Regions from separate parts of the Homo sapiens genome. Here all the other regions are linked to region 1. The links are contacts of gene promoters, found by promoter capture Hi-C in blood cells and fetal thymus (Javierre and others, 2016). All regions are on one chromosome and are shown on one strand. Each heading gives the region's core, a stretch centred on a gene start or on the middle of the fragment in contact. The rest is flanking DNA. Distances are from core to core; before and after follow the strand shown. Region 1 holds the start of NRIP1 (nuclear receptor interacting protein 1). Region 2 has its middle 36 kb from the start of RBM11. Region 3 overlaps USP25 (ubiquitin specific peptidase 25). Region 4 overlaps USP25 (ubiquitin specific peptidase 25). Region 5 holds the start of HSPA13 (heat shock protein family A (Hsp70) member 13). Region 6 has its middle 17 kb from the start of HSPA13. Region 7 has its middle 50 kb from the start of HSPA13.

Region 1 (2,720 bases), core at 69-2,568:
TACAATACCAGAAACAAACTCCAACTCAGTTCCACCAACTGGGTTTTTAAAAATCCTTGTGCCTAAGAACGTCTTTTTTCCCCAAAGTAAAATGTGCCATTAAAAAATATTTTTAAAACGCAAAAGTGCTTATCATTCCGTACTTCTTTTACTACCTTCAGCAGCCAATTATTGACGTGATAAAAGGTAGAAACTCCTGGAATGCTTCAGAGATCAACATGTGTCACAGACTCCCAGCCTGTCCGCCTCTAAGACACAGTTGGTTCCTTTGTTCCTTCTGACTGAACACCAACTCCTGATCAAAATTGGGAAACTACTTTGGAAGGGATGGGAGGGTCTGCAGAATACATCCACGGAAACCTTCATAAAACAATATTCAATCGTAATAAGGTGGACACAGAAGAAGGGAGAAAAGGCAGCCTCCCGGACTTCCACCGGGCTCACCCTAAATGGGGGCCGGCCCCTGGCTCCTGGTAAAATGATGGCTGAGGCCTCGGGTCCGTGAGCCTCGCCATCGGGAGGGGACCGCGAGTGCGGGCAGAGCGGCCCGGGGTCGGGTGGGGGCCGGGCGAGCTGTCCCTTTTCCTATTCACTTTCCCAGCCGGGTATCCAGCGAGCAAGGAGCAGGGAGGCACCCAGGCGAAAGGCGCCGCCCAGGATCCGGCTGGACAGCAGGACGGAGAGCGGCGAGGCGAGCGGTGCCCGGGGTTCGGGACCGAGAGGGCAAGCGAGCGGGGGCAACCCCGACCCGGCCCCCCGAGTCCGGCCCCGCTCAGGGGCCACGCGACGGCCGCCCCCTTGCCCAGAACTGGCACGGACGGGCGGGCCGACCCGGGGCCACTCCACAACTTGCCGGCCCGCCGCCCCGGCCCCCCGCGAGAACCCGGAGACTCGAACCAGGCAGCAGAGGCAGGATTTCCCCGGAAACGCGCCCTCCCCGCCGCCCCGACGCCCCCGCGGCCCTGCCAGCCAAGCGAGAGCCGACGCGGGCCGCGCTCCCGGGCCGTTTCCGGCGGCGCCGGCGGCCGCTACTCCTGGCGCCCTGGCCGCGGCCGTCACTCACCCCAGGCCGCCGCGGCTCCCAGCCTCCGGCTCCGTCAGGCTCGGTCCGCGAAGGCGCCTGCCGCCCCGTCCTGGCCCGGCGCCCCGGCGAGCTCTTCCCTCCGACCAGCGGCGCTCACGGCGCAGCGGCGGACGCGAGGCCACGGGCGGACGGGCGCGCGCGGGTGGCGGGCGGGCGTGGGGCCGGGTCGTCCCTGCGCCTCGCCGCCGCCTCCTCCGCCGCCGCCTCCCGAGTTCGGGGCTCTGCTGCAATGTCTGCGAGGCTGACTTTGAGCGCCTCGCTCACCGCCCGCCCGCAGCCGCGCTCCTCCCTCCGCCGCCGAGTCCGCCGCGGCCCAGTCCCTCCCCTCGCCGCCCCACGCCATTCAGCTCTTCAGCCAAGTTTCTTAACCCTTTTCTCCCCCTCCCTCCCATTGTCACCCGGTCAGGAGGAAGCCGCGCGGATCCGGGCGGCTCACAGGAGCTGCGGAACCCCCTCTGTTTCGTGGATTTCCTTCTCGCCTGCTCTCCGGGTGTCCCAGACGGGGCTGCAAGACCCGGAGGCAGCGAGAGGACCGCGTCCCCGAGAGAGGGGCTGCACGGCGCGCCCGGGCCGTCCCCCGGGCTCCCAGCTCTGTCCAGCCGCCCGCGACCGCTGCAGGCGCCTGGACAGCTCCTCCTGGGGACCGGGGAAAGCGCTCTTGGGACCCAGGCCGAATGCTCCCGTTTGGGCACAGCCTGGGGGCCGGGGCGCCCCAGACGCTCCAGGGTCCCCGCCTGCCTTAAGCGTCTACCTCCTCCCCTTCACCCCACAACACGCGCTCTCTGGGCCCCCTTTCACCCACCCACCCCCAATTTCTATCTCCTTGTAATCTGTGTGTCCTGCTTTAATGTTGGGGGGCACGGGCGCGAACTCTGGGTCACTTTGACCCCACGCCCAGCACGTAGTAGGCGCCCAGCACTCGTGTGGAGCGACTCTGGGAGGAAAACTAGGAAGGAGACCTGAGGAGCGCCCCGCTCAGCTCCCTGGACAGACGTAGGACCCAGGAGCAGGGTTAATCCTCGGCTGCTTTGTCACTGCGAAGTCTCCAGCGGAGTCTGTCAGCCAATCTGCATCATCCCCGGGAAGGATCTGACCCAACAAGACAAGGGAAAAGGAGCAGGGCTGCTACTTCTTCAGCAGCTCTCCTCGGTTCGGTCTCCGAATAAGAAATAACAATTACATCACGAGGCCGGGGCGGCAGCGCGGTGGAGCCTCTCGGTTTCCTGCAGCCTAATCTCACTGAACCCGCCTCTAAATTGGGGGGGCCACAGATTGGTGAAACGAGAAAGTGGAAGGAGGAGAGAGTCATACGAAACCATAATTTCCCCTTATCCTTGTATTTGCTGTTTGAAAAATCGTATCCTCAACGCTCCCCAGACATCTCACTAGAACTATTAACACCCCCTCAACACCTCCCCAGATGTCAGGTTTCTTTTTGACTTGAGCATCTAGCATTTAGTAATTCGCCATGAAAAAAATTACCAGGGGAAGCGAGTGTTGTTGCTGAAATTGTTTTTGCTTGACACAAAAAAGCTAAAGTACAGCTTAGTCTCACCCGAAATTCTGAAACGGCATGCCCGTGTTAAAACACTTATTACATAAGACAAATGAGCCGATGAGGCACTCCATTCTTATA
Region 2 (2,720 bases), core at 108-2,607, 810 kb before region 1:
ATCATATAAAGACATGCTAGGACAATTCATTTAAACATAAAAAATAAACATTTCATAAAAATCACATCAGTGCTGATGACTTAATGGCAGCCTAATATCCTGAAAGTAAACTAATCTGTCACCATAGCTTTTTTTTTTTTTTTTTGAGACAATCTCCTCTGTTACCCAGGCCGGAGTGGTGCAATCTTGGCTCACTGCAACCTCTGCCTCCTGGGTTCAAGCGATTCTCCTGCCTCAGCCTCCTGAGTAGCTGAGATTACAGGCATGCACCATGAAGACTGGCTAATTTTTGTATTTTTAGTAGAGACGGGGTTTAACCATGTTGGCCAGGCCTGTCACCATAGCTTTTGAGGGCTATTTGGTACCTTTAAATCAAATAAACTGGGTATTAATTCTTCTTAACACTCACCTGAAGATTCATTGTTTATTAATACTTAAGTCAAGTGTGTAATGATAAGTAATCTGATTGCAGGCACATATACATTTAATTTGATTTATATGGTTACTTAGAACATTTTCAGAACTTACCATATTCTAGCAGTTCTAAATTCCCTATATAACAGGTCCTTTAATATTTCTTCATGAAATGGAATACCTGAAATCCATATCCATCCCATATTAAGTACAGAATCATGGACCAATGAAATTTGCATAATTTTATATGCAAAGTGGGAGACAATGATCTATCCCCACGTTGGGGCTAAAGTACTAAGATTGTCCTAAGTACCTTGTAAATGCTTAGTAAATATGATTTTCCCTCTAGACCACAATAATTATTCCACATTTGTTCAAGAGTTCTATTTGTACTTATGAGAGGGCACATGGAAATGGACCAACATTCTGTCAGTACAAACACTGAAAAGCAAAGCTTTGTTCCCCAAGAATGAGAGAACACTCAACAAAGCAGCATGGTTTAACAGCTTGCAATGTTAACAAAAGGATATTTTACAGTATGTTCAGCTCTCCATATCTCTGTGCCTATGCTTATCCATTGAATCAGATAATTGATATCATCCTTTAATTCAGTTATCTGTGCAAGAATCTATTTTAATATTTCTTTACCCTGTAGAAAACAGGATTAGAAGAGGACTATACCTCATTTCCTCAATTTTTAAGTCCATTATCTAACTAGCATATTCAGATTGTGAAGGAAAAGTTGCTATAATGTGATACAGCAGGAACAGTGAGTTAAAATTCTTCCTAGCAAATCCAAGGCAACTATATTCACATCCTAGAGTGCAGTGATGATGGACATAACTAGATATTCGGTGTTCAACATATCATTTTACTTTATTCTACAGTTTTATCTATGCAAAGACAATGTTCGTGTTCTGACTTATCATCTCCTCTGCTACCATGGAGACACCAATGTTTAAAATACTTTACAAAATTCATTTTTGCAGTGAGAAATAGAAGAGCAATATATGTTTTACATGTGTCTGAGAATTGTTATATTATAATCCTGCAGCTTTCTGAAAGACAAATAGCAGTTGATAAATACAGAATGGTTATACAGAATTATCAATCCTTCTTAGTGGCTTTCAGAAGGCTAAGGAAATCATTTCAGACTTAAGAACTATGAAGCCAAACTAAACACTAATCCCAGAAAAAGACTCCTTGTCTTGCATTCTAACCATAAGTACTTCCTTTGAGATTTCGTAAAACAAGAAAACAAAAGCAAACAAACAAACAAAACCCTTAAAAACAGGGTTTGGCTATTAATCCAACTAATTCTTATATGCGGAATTTTTTTCTGATTTATCAAATCCAGTAGAGAGTAACAACCAGTTAACTACACAGTAAGCAAACTCCACTCTGACAACCATAATTCAAGAAGCTGTAGACATCAAGCTTCTAGTAAAAAGTACAGAGTCAGGGGCATTCAGTATATGTTAGGACTGATCAATTAACTCTCCTTGACCCTTTGCTCTTCTCTCATGATGCTTTTTGTCAAAAATACAGTCATCATCACTTAATCGTGGGGATATATTCTGAGACATGTGTCATTAGGTGATTTAGTTGTTGTACCAACATCATAGAGTGTACTTACACAAACCTAGATAGAAAGACTAACTACCCACCTAGGCTATATGGTATAGCTTATTGCTCCTAGGCTACCACCCTGTACTGCATGTGACTGTCCTGAATACCACATGCAATTGTAACACAGTGGTATCTGTGTATTTAAACATATCTAAACATAAAAAAATACAATAAAAATGCAGTATTATAATCTTATGTGGTCAACCACCGTATATGCTGTCACATAGTTCAGTTGTTGACTGAAATGTTGTTATGTGGTGCCTGGCGGTATCTCATCCATCAACTCTGTGAAGCACACCTGTGTCCATATTCCATCCCCCACCAAGCTCACCCTGAATACCAATCCCTTATACAAAAATGCCTATTGTGTGCTATAACTGTGGATATTGAATGTTGTTGATTGTTTGGAAAACAGGGGTGAAAAGCCAAGATTCAAAATAATAGGAAGTTCTGCTTCAAAAACTAAGCACTTCTCCCTGAATTCCCTCTCAGGAAGGGAACCCTTCTTGAAATGTATCTCAGAGGTGACAATGGACAGCTTTTTAAAAAAACTCCTTTTAATCACACACTTGTGTGTGCATAGGTATCTGGCTGACACCTGATCATTAAGAATAAAATAGATTATTTTGGTCCACAGAATTTCACAGATGGGTAGTAAAAGTCAGTTGCCAGTTCCA
Region 3 (2,720 bases), core at 140-2,639, 760 kb after region 1:
TGCTGCTGTTAAAGTGTACTTAAAAAAATGGATTATGGTAGATTTTATTACATTTTTTTCCTTAAATGTGAAAATATAATTCCCTATTATCATTCCCCAATTTTATGCTGATTTATTGATTTTTGAAAAAAATGAACTATGTGACATGGTTGGAATTATATTGAACAATATTGATTGTTGGATATTATATGACCAACTTAACTCTTTATAGACAATATTTGAAAAAGAATGGCCCTAATTTAGTAAGAAGTACATAAGGTATGATGGTGACTAACAGCATTAGTAGCTGTCAAGATTTTCTTTAGTATTTTTCAAATAAGAGGGAATTTTTAAAAATATTTGAACTCATTAACAAACATTAATCAAGCAAATAGTGTTGATGAAGCACTATATTAGGCGTTGGGTAATTTTCTACTCCTCATGGCAGGTTGTTTTTAAAAGATTACATTCAGAGGAGTGGAAGCTAGGAAGCTTTTGACACCTAAGTAGTGGCATTGAGGGAGGGAAGAAGTGAATGTACTTAAAATACTCTTTGGAGACAACTGACAGATGTGGGTCATTGGCTAGAGGTAAGAGAGAGGGACGAATCGAATGATTCTCTCAGTTCATAATGGTATGAATAACCAAATAGAATGTATTTTGGAAAAAAGGTAAAGCAGTGGGCAAAGAGGTTCCCACTCAGGGGAGGAAAGAGAAATATGATGAGTTCTCTTTTGGCCATTTTAAGTTTGAAGAGCTTTTTTGAGACGGAGTCTCGCTCTGTCACCAGGCTGGAGTGCAGTGGCATGAACTCGGGCTCACTCCAGCCTCTGCCTCCCAGGTTCAAGCGATTCTCCTGCCTCAGCCTCCCAAGTAGCTGGGATTACAGTTGTGTGCCACCACACCCAACTAATTTTTGTATTTTTAGTAGAGATGGGGTTTCACCATGTTGGCCAGGGTGGTCTCAATCTCTTGACCTTGTTATCCGCCCACCTCAGCCTCCCAAAGTGCTGGGATTACAGGCGTGAGCCACCATGCCTGGCTGTTAAGATTTTTATATGTAATACTATGGATCAGGAAAGAAGGTTTTCCTCAGGATATTTTTTTTCTTTCTTTCATCCATATTGATGTTAGCAGTTAGCATTATTTTGTAAACTATTGTGTAATATTCCAACACACGGGTATGATGTAATTCATTTAATTCCCATATTGATATTTCCTAAATAGTGCTGGTCTTCGATATACATATTTATACACTTCTGTAAGTAGGATATGTTCTTTTTTATGTTCAGGGGTACATGTGCAGGTTTGCTATAAAGGTAAATTACATGTCTTGGGGGTTTGGTGTAAGATTATTTCATCATGCAGGTAATAAGCACAGTACCTGATAGGTGGTTTTTCCATCCTCACCCTGCTCCCACCCTCCACCCTAATGTAGGCCCCAATATCTGTTGTTTCCTTATGTCCACCATTTCTGGTTCAGAGTGTGTATATTTTAAATTTTGACGACTGTTTTAAAATTGTCACTCCAAAACATTAAACCAGTTTGCATTCCCACTGTGTGAGAGAGCCTGTCTCCCAGTATCCTCCCTAGCCCTGGACACTTTTTAGTAGTTTTTCACAATTGAAAAACTGGTATTTTAGTGTTTTGATTTGCATTCCCTTAGCTTCGAGTGAAGTTGGATATTTATATTGTTCTGTAAATTTCTTGTTTGTGACATTTGCCCATTTTTTAAGTATTGAGCTATTTGTATTTTTCTTATTACTTAATAGAAAGTTTAATGTATTGTGGATATTAACACTTTACCTATAATATCACATATGCTGCAGATATTATTTTCCCAGTTTTTCATTTGATTTTATGTTGGTTTTGTTTTCTTTTTATAATGTAGATTTTTTAAAGTGTTGGGCAGGGAGGATCTTATCTTTTCCTATAAGGTTACTAGTTTTCTGACAGGCTTAAGACAGGTCTTTCCCCACTCTAAAGTTAGCCAGTTTCTTTTATAGTTTTTCAAGGTTTCTTCCTGATTGGTTCAGCAGCTTCACAATATGATGTGGTTACAATCTAACCGTTTCCTTATTGACAGATATTTAGGTTATCTCTTTTTTAAAAATTATTGTGGACAATATGACTGTGAACATCCCTATCTGAACAATTTTGTAGGATTATTTTCTACTAGAAGTAGAAATAATTGTCATGGGAGTGCCATAATTTTATTTTCACTGGTGATTATAGTCGATTTTTATTCAGTTATGTGTGTGTACAAGATATGTGGTGAACATGTTTTACTTTGTTCTTAAGTTTACTTGTGTTATAGCAATATGTAAGGAAGCTTAGCTTTCATTTTCATTGAAACTCTCCTTTATAGATTTGAACAAAATTCACTTTTATTGGCTCTGCACATTTTCTAGATAAATCATATTTGTGTTGTTTTTAAAGTATGCATTTGTACTGTGTCTTTTATTAAGAATAACTATAATTCATTTTCTACAGATTTCAAATGGTAATGTTTTTTAAGAAAAGTTTTAGGAAAATTTTCCTATTCCTCTAACATGTTTGTAGGAAAAACATTAGTCCTTATCTTATAAGTAGAAACACATTTGCTGTTAATCATTAAATGACACCTTATATCCTTAGATTTGCAGGAAAGCATATCCAGAATCCATCGAACAATTGAATTAATGTACTCTGACAAATCTATGATACAAGTAAGTGAAATTTTGAGCTAGTAATCATTGTC
Region 4 (2,720 bases), core at 129-2,628, 720 kb after region 1:
GGGTTCCTCTTCTTATAGGAAGAAGGTAAGCGGAGAATCATCAGTCCTCATCACCACCACAGGTGCCAGCAGTCACTGCTACAAGAGAGTTCCCCAGTCCTCACAGGTCCCAAGTCCAGCATGAACAGTTGCTGAAAGTGCATGTGGCTACATTCCCCCACAGCAGGAACCTCTTTGACACCCTGCACCCCTGCAATCCAAGCAGCTAAGGGATGACACAACTGTGAAACCAAGCCCACATCTGGAGTGCTTCCTGACCTGGAGGCCAGTAGCCACCCTGTATCCCAGAGGCATTGCCCTCATTCCACAAAGTTCACACAAGTGCCTCTAGCACTAATACCTTGGCTACTTGGAGCCTAGGCTCAAAGGCACAACTGGGGCCCTGATACCTAAACCCACAAGGCTCCCTATTACCCAGGGAAGCAGGTGGGCCTGCATGGCCGGGCAGCCCCATGCGGCCACCAGGCTAGTGTACATCTGTCCCTGGCTCTAGCTGGCCTGGAGGTGGCCCCACCCCAAGGGAGAGAGTAGTATACAGCCAGTGGGCCTGTGTGAACTTGCTCCCAGCTTGAATAGCTGGCCCAGAGGTTGTCTGCCTGTACCACTGGAGGATTGTGCACAGCTGCCGGGCCACAATTTCCTGCCTTTAGTCCAATAGCTGGTTTGGAGGCACTCTTTCCGCAGCTCAACCCTACATCACCAGAGTCATGCACAGCCTCCAGACCTGTGTGCATCCACCCCTGGCCTGATAGCCAGCCCAGCAGTAACCCTGCTGCCATTCAGGAGAGACAGTCGTACAACCTTTCTGGCCTGCTGCATCAGCATGTGCCTGACCAGCAACCAGCTTGGTGCCAACTCCAGAAAAACCATGCCACCACAGTCATGGGCTTCTGCATACTAAGTCACTGAGATAATCACGGACATCGCAGGTGAGGATTCCAGCTGAATAATCTGTTTGGACACCACAATACTGAGTCCACCCTGAACCAAAGCCACCACACGCCATTTCCAATCAGCACCCTAGGACCCATCAACAGGAAAAAACCTCTTCCTATGAAAGCTGCTCGTTAAAATTGGAAAAAGCAATTGTCCATTACATGCACAGGTACCAACATAGAGACAGAAGAATCATGAAAAAGCAAGGAAACGTGTCACCCCCAAACCTGGCACCACAATGCATCTTTAGTAATGGAATCCAAAGAAAAGAATATTTATGAAATGCATGAAAAATAATTCAAAATAATGACATTAAAGAAACTTTTGAGTTGTAAGAGAATACAACAATTTAACGAAATTAATAAATTCATTAGCTGAGTGAGAAATTGAACAAAGATAGATATTATGGAAAGGAACAAAACAGGAATCTTGGAGCTTGAGGAATTAAGTGAATGAAATTAAAAAAAATACAATTGAGAGCCACAGTAACAGACTAGAACATGCAGAATAATACATTTCTGAACTTGAAGACAGATCGTTTGAAATAACCCATTCAGAAGAAGAAAAAAAAAAAAGAATAACAAAGTATGAAGAAAGCCCATAGGACTTATCAGACACCATTAAGCAAACCTATATTCATATTATGGGAGTGCCAGAGAAAGAATAAGTGAAGAGAGGCATAGACCACCCATTTGGTTAAATAGATTGCCTGTGTCCTTCTGCACTTCTTGGAAGGAAGTCTTGGAAGTTATGGACATCTAGGAATGAAAAGATCCCCAATAAAATTCAGCCCCTCAAAATCCTCTCAAAGGTACACAATTCTAAAAGCTGTAAGACAAAAACATTACGTCACATATATGGGAATTCCCATTAGACTGTCAGTACATTTCTCAGCAGAGACTGCACAAGACAGGAGAGAGTGGGATGACATATTCACAGTGCTGGGAAAAAATAAAAATAAAATATAAAAATAAAAACTGTCAGCAGAGAATATATCCGGCAGTGCTATCCTTAAGAAATGAAAAAGAAGGGCCGGGCGCAGTGGCTGATGCCTGTAATCTCAGCACTTTGGGAGGCCAAAGCAGGCAGATCACGAGGTCAGGAGATCGAGACCATCTTGGTTAACATGGTGAAACCCCGTCTGTACTAAAAAAAAAAAAAAAAAATACAAAAAATTAGCCAGGCATGGTGGTGGGTGCCGGTAGTCTCAGCTACTTGGGAGGCTGAGGCAGGAGAATGGCGTGAACCCAGGAGGCGGAGCTTGCAGTGAGCCGAGATCGCGCCACTGCACTCCAGCCTGGGCGACAGAGCGAGACTCCGTCTCAAAAAAAATAAAGAAAAGAAAAAGAAATAGAGACGTTTCCAGACAAGCAAAGGTGATGGAATTCATCACCACTGGACTGGTCCTACAAAAACACTTAGAGGAAATAATAGGAAATGAAAGAATGATTAATACCATGAAAATATGTGAAAATACAAAACTCATCAATATAGGTAAATCCATAATCATATTCAGAATACCCCAGTGCTGTAATGGTGCTGTGTAATTCCTTCCGTCCTCTAATATGAAGGTTTAAAGTTAAAAATGTCAGAAATATCAACAGCTACAATTAGTGGCTAAGGAACACATGAAAGATAAAGATGTGGCTGGGCGTGGTGGCTCACGCCTGTAATGCCAGCACTTTCGGAGGCTGAGGCTGGCGGATCATCTGAGGTCAGGAGTTTGAGACCAGCCTGATGAACGTGGAGAAACCCCGTCTCCACTAAAAATACAAAATTAGCTG
Region 5 (2,720 bases), core at 110-2,609, 680 kb before region 1:
TGTGTCATTCTCTAATAAATGTAATAAAATGTAAAAATATTTCAATAATATTTGTGCAGATGCTGACAAGAAACAACATTTATCTGGAGCAAAAGCCAGATATAATCTAATATTCTTGATCAATTGATATTTAGATTTTACAGCTTTATAAAAAGCTTCGATTATCTTTTTTTAAAAGCTCCATTATTAAAATTCTCACAAGAAAAACTTTATTATTTTATAAGTCTAAAATTCTCTCCTCGTATCTCACCTCCTTTTCCCTTTCAAAAGGATGAAATGAATAAATGGGATAAAATGATTTTGAAAGTTCCTTAGATATGAAACTGTCACTTCAAAACAGAACACAGTTAACTTTTTATGTATTTAAGTATGAACTAGGGACTTCCTTCTTGCAGTGGTAATATTTAGGGGAGAAGAAGCATAAAGGTGGGCAACCCTGACGGCAACATCTATGAAAGCTTCTTGAAGACAAGTTTCGTTCACTGTTGTATCCCCCAGACCAGGAATAGCAGATGCCCAACAAATACTAATTTAAAAAAAAAAGAAAAAAGAGTAGGAACAAATGCCACGCAGATTGTAAACATAAGCGAAGAAAGATGCCCCTTTAGTTTTTAATGAATCTCGTATTTGGTATCAGGAGGCTGTGTTATACACCTGTGTCCGCTCATATTACATATGACCCAAAACATGAATTTTCAGGGCTCTGTGTTACTAATTGTTAGCTCATCCTCATCAACACATAACTCAAAGAAATAAAACCAAGTGCGAATCCCACTTTCCACTTCCAGCTACAGGCAACATTTCAGAAGCATTTCATCACCTTGGAGACGCGGGGTGGGTGTGTGTGTGGGTGGGGGATAGGTAATTCCAAACCCGATGTGATGGAAAAAGCCTCCAAATTCAGCATCCCTGAGCCGACAGATCCGGATGTAGCTCCTCCCCCTTCCTCCACAAAGGGGTCCTGGAGGTGCACGTTCTCGCAGCCTTCCATAGCTTGCCCCAATTCAACAGGCAATTCAAAAACCTAGGTGCTGTTGAAAGGAACGCCTCCCTAAGCCTGATGTCCCTGGGATGGACACAGCTGGTCGCCGTCTATCCTACCTTGGCCTGCAGGGGCCGGGGCCCTCCTAGAGGCGTCCCCGCCCCCATCCACTCCGAACAGCCGAAAACCGTCTCTAAGTCACCTTTCTGACTCCCCTTCCGCTGCTCCAGCTAGATCCAGGAGGTGAGTCAACCACCCCTGCCCACTCTGGCATCCTCAGATCGCCTCTACGCCCGCAAGAGCAACAAGGACCCCCGGGAACCCACCTAAGATCGTCATCTCTCTGGCCATCACAGTCCCGCCGAACAGGCTTGTGATGACTGTACCAGACGTGAGGCACCGCCCCCACTCCTCCCGGCAGTCCCGCAGCCCCCTGGGAAATGTAGTCCGCTTGCTCTGAGGCAATCGGAGAAGCTATCGCTCTGACCAAAGCAAGGACTTCATCTACCGTGAGGGCGCGGGGCAAAGAGCCTCCATTCAACCGCTGCCAGTGACGACTGAGTCCCCCTTCCACGCAACGGCCGGCAGGACCAGTGAGACTGAGGGGGAGGAGCGCCGTGGCGAGAGACTGGCGTTTATAATCAAACCTGTGGTCCCGCGATCCTACTTGAGGGAAAACAGGCTATCTCTTTAGCCCCGCCCCGCGCTTTGCATTCTGGGAAGCGGAGTTCCAGCCTTTCTCTTTCCGCGGGAGGGAATGAAAGGGAGGGTGAGAACCGTTAGTTATTTCTTTCTTTGGTCGTGCCCCTAATCAGGTCCAGGATTCGAGTTTGTGTTCTTTCGTTTTAATTCCTTTTAAAGCGCGTTCGTTTGCCTGAGATCTAGCTTCTAGATGGCGTTCCTATAGCCTCCCGGAGCCCCAGCCATCCTCCGTAGAAGGGTCCCTGCCGCAGTGCGGGGCCTGAGGGAAGTCGGCTCTGGCGTCCGTGCTCCAACGCTGGGAGCAGCCCTGAAACTCCAGTGACCCTCAGCCGTCTGCCTTTGTTTTGGGATAAATGAATTCAAGCATTCTTCAGTCAATTCGATTTATCCAAGGGATCAGGGACACATTTTCTCTATTGCTAGCACTGACGTGGGCCATTAAAAACAAAAACAAAAACGAAATTAAAAAGAAAACCCTTAGCTCTCTCTTCAAGTAAGTCTTAAGTGGCCAAAATTGACCTTATGGGCAAGTCCTGTAACGTGACAGCCATTTTAGGACGCTTGTGACATGCTGTTCAGGTTCTAGTCTGAAGTAGGATTTTTCTCGCATCTTGGTCACTGGTAGCACTTAATGACTCCTCTGAGAGTGGTTTTGTCATTTTTGCTGTTAGAGTTCACGATAACTAAGATCCTGGAGAATTGAATCCATTTTCTCAGCTTAGATATAAATCAAACCATCCCTGTTGACAACACGTCAGCCTGCTGTGGGAATACATTGCTGGTTATTTCTGACTTATCAATGTGAATTTTGATTATGGAAGCTGAATTCTGGTTGATAGGGATCCATTGTAATGTTCTCTCTACTTTTGCGCATTTTTAAGTATTTCATAATGCGAAATATAAAAAGTGTGTGTCTATAGTGAGTGCTGTTCAATAAGATTCTTATAAGGAGTGAAGAATTCAAGCACTTAGTTCTTAAGTATTACTTGTAATGGGCAGTGGGCTGGAGGTGTTCCAGGCAGACGGAACTCAATTA
Region 6 (2,720 bases), core at 62-2,561, 660 kb before region 1:
TGCTAACAGTGATATGTGTCTTTCTGTGCCTGGTTTATTTCACATAACATAACGACCTCCAGTTCCATTGATGTTGCTGCAAATAGGATTTTATTTTTTATGGCTGAATAGTATTCCATTCATCCTGTACAATTGGGAAACTATTTGCAAATTATTCATTGAACAATGTACTAATATCCAGAATATGTAAGTAACTCAAACAGCTCAATGACAAAAAAACAAATAATCCCATCAAAAAGTGGGCAAAGGATCTTAATAGACATTTCTTAAAAGAAGACATACAAATGACAACAGGTATATGAAAAAATACTCAACATCACTAATCATCAGGGAAATGCAAATAAAAGACAATGAGATATCATCTCACCTCTGGTAAAATGGCCGTTATTAGAAAGACAAAAAATGACAAGTGCTGGTGAAGATGAGGAGAAGGTGGAACTTTTATACACTGTTGGTGGAAATATAAATTAGTATAACCATTATGGAAAACAGTATGAAAGATTCTCAAAAAACTAAAAAAAGAACTATTGTATGCTCCAGCAATTCCACTAGTGGGTACTTATCCAGCAGACAGGAAATCAGTCATCAAAAGAATACCTGCACCCCCATGTTTTATATTGGCACTATTCACAATAGCCACATAGACTTTTAATTGAGCTACATACTTGCCAACACTTAGCATTTATCATGCTGGTCAATATTTTCTAGTCTGATGAAAGTAAAATGACATCTGTTTGTGATATTTATTTGCATTTTTCTAATTGTTAATGAAATTAAATAATTTTTCATAAGTTTACTCTCCATTTTTTATTTTCTATAAATGCTTGTTCATGTAAATTTTCTCATTTTTCTAATTTTTTTCTTTCCAATTTTAGGAATTCTTTATATATTTTGGTTACTAATGTTTTACAAGTTATACATGTTGCAAATGTCTCTATGGCTTATTTTTAAATATCTTTGTAATATCTTTAAATGACATAAGTTTTTAATTATATAATGTGGTCAATTTTATGATTAGTACCTTTTGTATCATTTAAAATCTCCTAACCTACCCTGAGTCATTAATACATTCTTCTATTTTATCTTTTTTAACTTTCATATTTGGGCCTTTAATCAACCTGGAACTGATTTGTGCATGTAGTGTGCTGTAAGGATCCTATTTTTCCCCCATATTTATAACTATGAGCCAACACTATTAGTGAATAGTCTAATTTCTGCAATGTTTTGCATGGCTATCTCTATCACATATTAAATTTTAATACTCACAAGTCTGTTTTTGAGCTCTCTATTTTGTTTTACTGGCCAATTGATCTAATACTGTTTTAATTATTATATTTTTATAATAGTTTATGCTGTTAATCAGGACAAAGATCTTCACTTTTTCTCTCTTCTTCATGAGTGTGTTGACTATTTTTCTTCCTTTTATTATTTATGTCAGTTTTAGAAAAAAATTTTTAAGATGATTCAACTTGATTCTGAGCAACCAACCTGGCTTTATATTAAGCCTGTCGTAGGCCCCTGGCTACATCTGTGATTTTCGAGTTTATCTTCGCTGTTTCATTACTGGCCCAGGATTTGGAGTGATGATCTTGGCATTTGCTCCAAAGGCATCACTGTCTCTTGGAGATTCTTTTGTTTTTTCTTTTTGAGTTTTAGCAAACTTATTTTATTTTTTGTCCCTTACAGGTTTGCCTGAAATTCTCAGTAGCCCAGCATGCAATAAAAACAATGTTTCATGGAAGCTCTTTTTTTTTCCCTAGTGAGAGGGAGCTTTGCATATGTAATATACAATTCTAGAAGTTCTCCAGATTTCTTATGTTGTAAACTTAAAACTCTGAGCCAAAAATATCATATTTTGAATTAACTGTTGACCTCAGAAATGACAATTTTTACTTGTGAGTTAGGGTAGGTGAAAGTGACTGAACACCTTAACTTCTGTCATTTCCTCTCTACTGTACATTATTGCAGAACTGGAAAGAACTTTACAGCTAAATAGTGAACAGCCCTTAACTTTCTTTCTCTCTTATTTAGAAGCTATAAACCAGAGATGATTTGTTTTCCAGATAAGGATATACTAATCAATAGTAGTGAAAAGCCATGCCAAAATGAGAGAGGCAGCCTAGTAAAATCTCTATGTCAGTTATTTATGTCAAGAGCATTTAAAAAGTAGGCCAGAATGTAGAGTAGCTTGAATTATATCCTTCAAACAAAGAAGTAATTAAAACAAACAAATATAAAACAAAAACCTAGCAGGAGGATTATCATGTTGTTAACTATTATTCAATGTCAGGCTTCATAATGACTCTAGGATACTGAGAATGAATTTTGAAATTATTAATTGAAACTCTGCCATTTGAATTTCTAGCAAGATCTTTCTATCAATACTTATCATTTTCACCATAGTAGTCCACTAACATTTTGGCATGCAATCGTTTGGATGTAGTTTGAAGTGGCCTTCAATGTTGACATTTAGCTTCTTAAGAATGAAACAGGGACAGGTGTCCTCACCAGATAGGCCAGGTGGGATCATGCAAAAAGCAGAATCTTTGGAGCCAGACAGACCTGCCTTCACATGCCAATACACAATCTGAGAGAACATTCTCCAGGTCTTGTGAGCCTCAGGCAACTCAGCTACAAAAATTGGGATCACAATCCCTTCTTTGCAGGGCTGTTGCAAGAATGACATAAGAGAAAACCTTTTTTATGCTTAGCAACTAATA
Region 7 (2,720 bases), core at 57-2,556, 630 kb before region 1:
CCAATAGGCATTTCTCCAAAGAAGATGTAAAAATGTCCACCAGGCATATGAAAAGGTGCTCAACATAACTAATCATCGGGGAAATGTAAATCAAAATCACAATGAGATACTGTGTCACACCTGTTACAATGGTTATATCAAGAAGACAAGAGAAGTGTTGACAAGGGTGTGGAGGAAAAGGGAGCTTTTTTATACTGTTGGTGGGAAGGCAAATTGGAACAGCCATTATAGAAGACAGAGTGGAGTTTCCTCAAAAAATTAGAAGTAGAACTACCCTATGACCCAGCAATTCCTCTTTTGGGTATACATCTAAAAAAATTAAAACAATATGTTGAAGGGATACCTGCATCTCCATGTTTGTTGCAGCTTTATTCACAATAGATAAAATATAGAAACAATCCAACTGTCTGTCCATAGATGAATAGATAAAGAAAATATATAGGCATATATGTATGTGTGTGTATTTCATACATATATAAAATACACATATATATGAATATTATTCAATCTTAAAGAAGGAGATTCAGCCAATTGTAACAGCATGGATGAAGTTGGAGAATATTATGCTAAGTGAAACAAGCCAGACATAGAAAGAAAAATAGTACATGGTTTCACTTACATCTAGAATTTAAAAAGAGTTGAATACATAGAAACAGAATTGAATAGTGGTTATCAGAGGCTGAAGGATGGGGAAAAAATGAGGAGATGTCAGTCAAAGGGTTTCAGTGTTGCAGTATCTCAGAATGTAACTGTATTTGGCTACAGGCCTTTGAATAGATGATTAAGTTAAATAAGGCTGTTAGGGTGGTCCCTAATTCAATCTGACCAGTGCCCTTGTAATAAGAGGGAATTTGGACACATAAAGAGACACCAGGAATGCACAAGCACAGAGTAAAGTCCATGTAATGGCACAGTGAAAAGGTGACCATCTCAAGCCAAGGAGAGAGGACTCTTTTGGCCTCAGAAGAAACCAAACTTGCTAATCTCTTAATCTTGGACTTCTAGTCTTTAGGGTGATGAGAAACTATATCTCTGTTGTTTAATCCACCAGTCTGTGGTATTTTGTTATGGCAGCCATAGCAAACTATTAGTTAGACAAGAACACTGCTAATGTCTTTTCTAGACCTAAAATTCTACTGTTGTTTTTAAAAGATTGCTGCTGTTTTCTTGAGAGTCAAAAGTAAATGCAGATAATTCCCATTATCCTGGTGTGGTCTTAAGGAAATTTTTAGTGTTCTCATTATCTTTCTTCCTTTATTTCTAGATACTTACTATAAGTTTTCTAGTAGCAAGATTGGAATCCCATCAGTTGACAGTGTATGAGCCTAATATTATACATTGTAAATCATTCTCACTAGCATTTTGTGTATACTTATTAATATATTTGTTATTTCAATTCAGAATCATTGCTTAAGTTTTCTGATCTTTATAGTTTCTCTGATTATCCTCTGATTGATAAAGTCTTTATGATTAAACTCTTCAGACATTACCATTTTGTTTCTACAATGTCGATATCTTCATGTTTCCAGTATCTTCACTATCAGATCCTTGCCATATCATCCTTTTCACATAATTATGATAAATTATAAAAATCTCACTGTATTTGGTATTATTGTAAGTTAAATGATATGTTCAGGATTTGCAAAGGTATATTGCACATTTTCATGATGTCACAAAAAACTAATGATAACCAGGACTCCTTAGATAAATGATTAATTCTAAAACTGAGGCAGAAAATGTACAAGCTGAGCCCGGACCATTTTTTAGTGCAGAAAGCAAATAAATGCTTACAAACAAACAAACAAACCCATATTGATGTAGGTGTGTCGAAGGGACACAGGAGTCAACTGAAAGCGCTCCCAATGGCCAAAGGTGGAATAAGTTGAGCAAGAAAATAAAGTAGTACAGGATAAAATTTCAAAGTATAACATCCATATCCATGAGTCCATATTGATATAATAATATCAATATCATAAATGATTGAATAAATAAGTAATTAGGAGAGAATGGACACATCTCCCATATAGAAGAATTCCAAATAATTTATGTAAACACTCCACTCTCATGGAGGGGGTAGACATAATGACTTCCCTCCAACAGTGCAGTATGGAAAGTGATGGAGGGAATGAGTAACTTTACGGTGAAGAAGCCTGATGAAGCTAACTGAGCGTGATTATCAATGTCAACATTAATAGTCATAACTCATGTTGATAGTATGTACCCTTGACACGCTGTCACAAAAATAGCACTTTATTTCTGTAATATTCCTTTCCCCCAAGCCCAATAACCTCAGTATAATCATGAGAAGAACATCAAACAAATTCCAGTGGAGGGACATCCCACAAAATACTTTACTCCTCAAAAGTGTTCAGATCATCAAGTAAAAACAAAAACTAGGAAACTGTCACAGGCATCAGGAGCCTAAGGAGACAGACATAATAGCTGAATGCAATGTGGCATCCTGAATGAGTTCCTGGAATAGGAAAAGGATATTAGGTAAAAACCAAGGAAATCTGAACAAATTATGGACTTCGATAAATGAATAACAATGCATCTGTATTGGTTCATTAATCATAACAAATGTACCATATTACAAACAGGAAAAACTGAGCCTGGAGTACATGGAAACTCTGTGTACTATTTTGCAAAATTTTCTGTAAATCTAAACCTGTTTTAGAAAATAAAGTTTATTTTTAAAAAAAATGAAATCAGACTTCAGA

The links. Contacts are between HindIII fragments. The CHiCAGO score rates a contact against its expected background, and 5 or more counts as called.
Region 2: a fragment that was not itself captured here is called in contact with the fragment with the promoter of NRIP1 in region 1 in 1 of 17 cell types (erythroblasts); the score reaches 5.0 in erythroblasts.
Region 3: a fragment that was not itself captured here is called in contact with the fragment with the promoter of NRIP1 in region 1 in 3 of 17 cell types (naive CD8 T cells, naive CD4 T cells and total CD4 T cells); the score reaches 10.3 in naive CD8 T cells.
Region 4: a contact is called between a fragment that was not itself captured here and the fragment with the promoter of NRIP1 in region 1, in 1 of 17 cell types (naive CD4 T cells). The highest score is 5.2, in naive CD4 T cells.
Region 5: the fragment with the promoter of HSPA13 here is called in contact with the fragment with the promoter of NRIP1 in region 1 in 7 of 17 cell types (erythroblasts, naive CD4 T cells, fetal thymus and 4 more); the score reaches 8.9 in erythroblasts.
Region 6: a fragment that was not itself captured here is called in contact with the fragment with the promoter of NRIP1 in region 1 in 4 of 17 cell types (M0 macrophages, erythroblasts, M2 macrophages and 1 more); the score reaches 6.1 in M0 macrophages.
Region 7: a fragment that was not itself captured here is called in contact with the fragment with the promoter of NRIP1 in region 1 in 2 of 17 cell types (M0 macrophages and erythroblasts); the score reaches 6.4 in M0 macrophages.

What each region holds. Positions count from the first base shown.
Region 1 is chr21:15,063,682-15,066,401 of GRCh38, forward strand. NRIP1 (nuclear receptor interacting protein 1) reads right to left here and starts at 1,319. Exons shown (of 4, transcript NM_003489.4): 1 at 1,064-1,319. RefSeq lists silencers at 551-1,410, 1,661-1,840 and an enhancer at 2,171-2,220. The HindIII fragment of the contact is 10,218 bases long and covers 1-2,720 here.
Region 2 is chr21:14,250,669-14,253,388 of GRCh38, forward strand. No RefSeq gene overlaps it. Among named protein-coding and RNA genes, the nearest start is that of RBM11, 36 kb to the left of the region's middle. The HindIII fragment of the contact is 983 bases long and covers 867-1,849 here.
Region 3 is chr21:15,827,914-15,830,633 of GRCh38, forward strand. USP25 (ubiquitin specific peptidase 25) reads left to right here. Exons shown (of 26, transcript NM_001283041.3): 15 at 2,618-2,688. Among named protein-coding and RNA genes, the nearest start is that of USP25, 99 kb to the left of the region's middle. The HindIII fragment of the contact is 1,841 bases long and covers 470-2,310 here.
Region 4 is chr21:15,781,710-15,784,429 of GRCh38, forward strand. All of the region lies in intron 4 of USP25 (ubiquitin specific peptidase 25), which reads left to right. Among named protein-coding and RNA genes, the nearest start is that of USP25, 53 kb to the left of the region's middle. The HindIII fragment of the contact is 3,402 bases long and covers 1-2,720 here.
Region 5 is chr21:14,381,787-14,384,506 of GRCh38, forward strand. It overlaps HSPA13 (heat shock protein family A (Hsp70) member 13), which reads right to left and starts at 1,360. Exons shown (of 5, transcript NM_006948.5): 1 at 1,309-1,360. The coding sequence starts at 1,333. LOC105369304 (a long non-coding RNA gene) reads left to right here and starts at 980. Exons shown (of 2, transcript XR_007067924.1): 1 at 980-2,720. RefSeq lists enhancers at 1,067-1,376, 1,767-1,896. The HindIII fragment of the contact is 7,322 bases long and covers 457-2,720 here.
Region 6 is chr21:14,398,902-14,401,621 of GRCh38, forward strand. No RefSeq gene overlaps it. Among named protein-coding and RNA genes, the nearest start is that of HSPA13, 17 kb to the left of the region's middle. The HindIII fragment of the contact is 7,464 bases long and covers 1-2,720 here.
Region 7 is chr21:14,431,976-14,434,695 of GRCh38, forward strand. No RefSeq gene overlaps it. Among named protein-coding and RNA genes, the nearest start is that of HSPA13, 50 kb to the left of the region's middle. The HindIII fragment of the contact is 3,201 bases long and covers 1-2,720 here.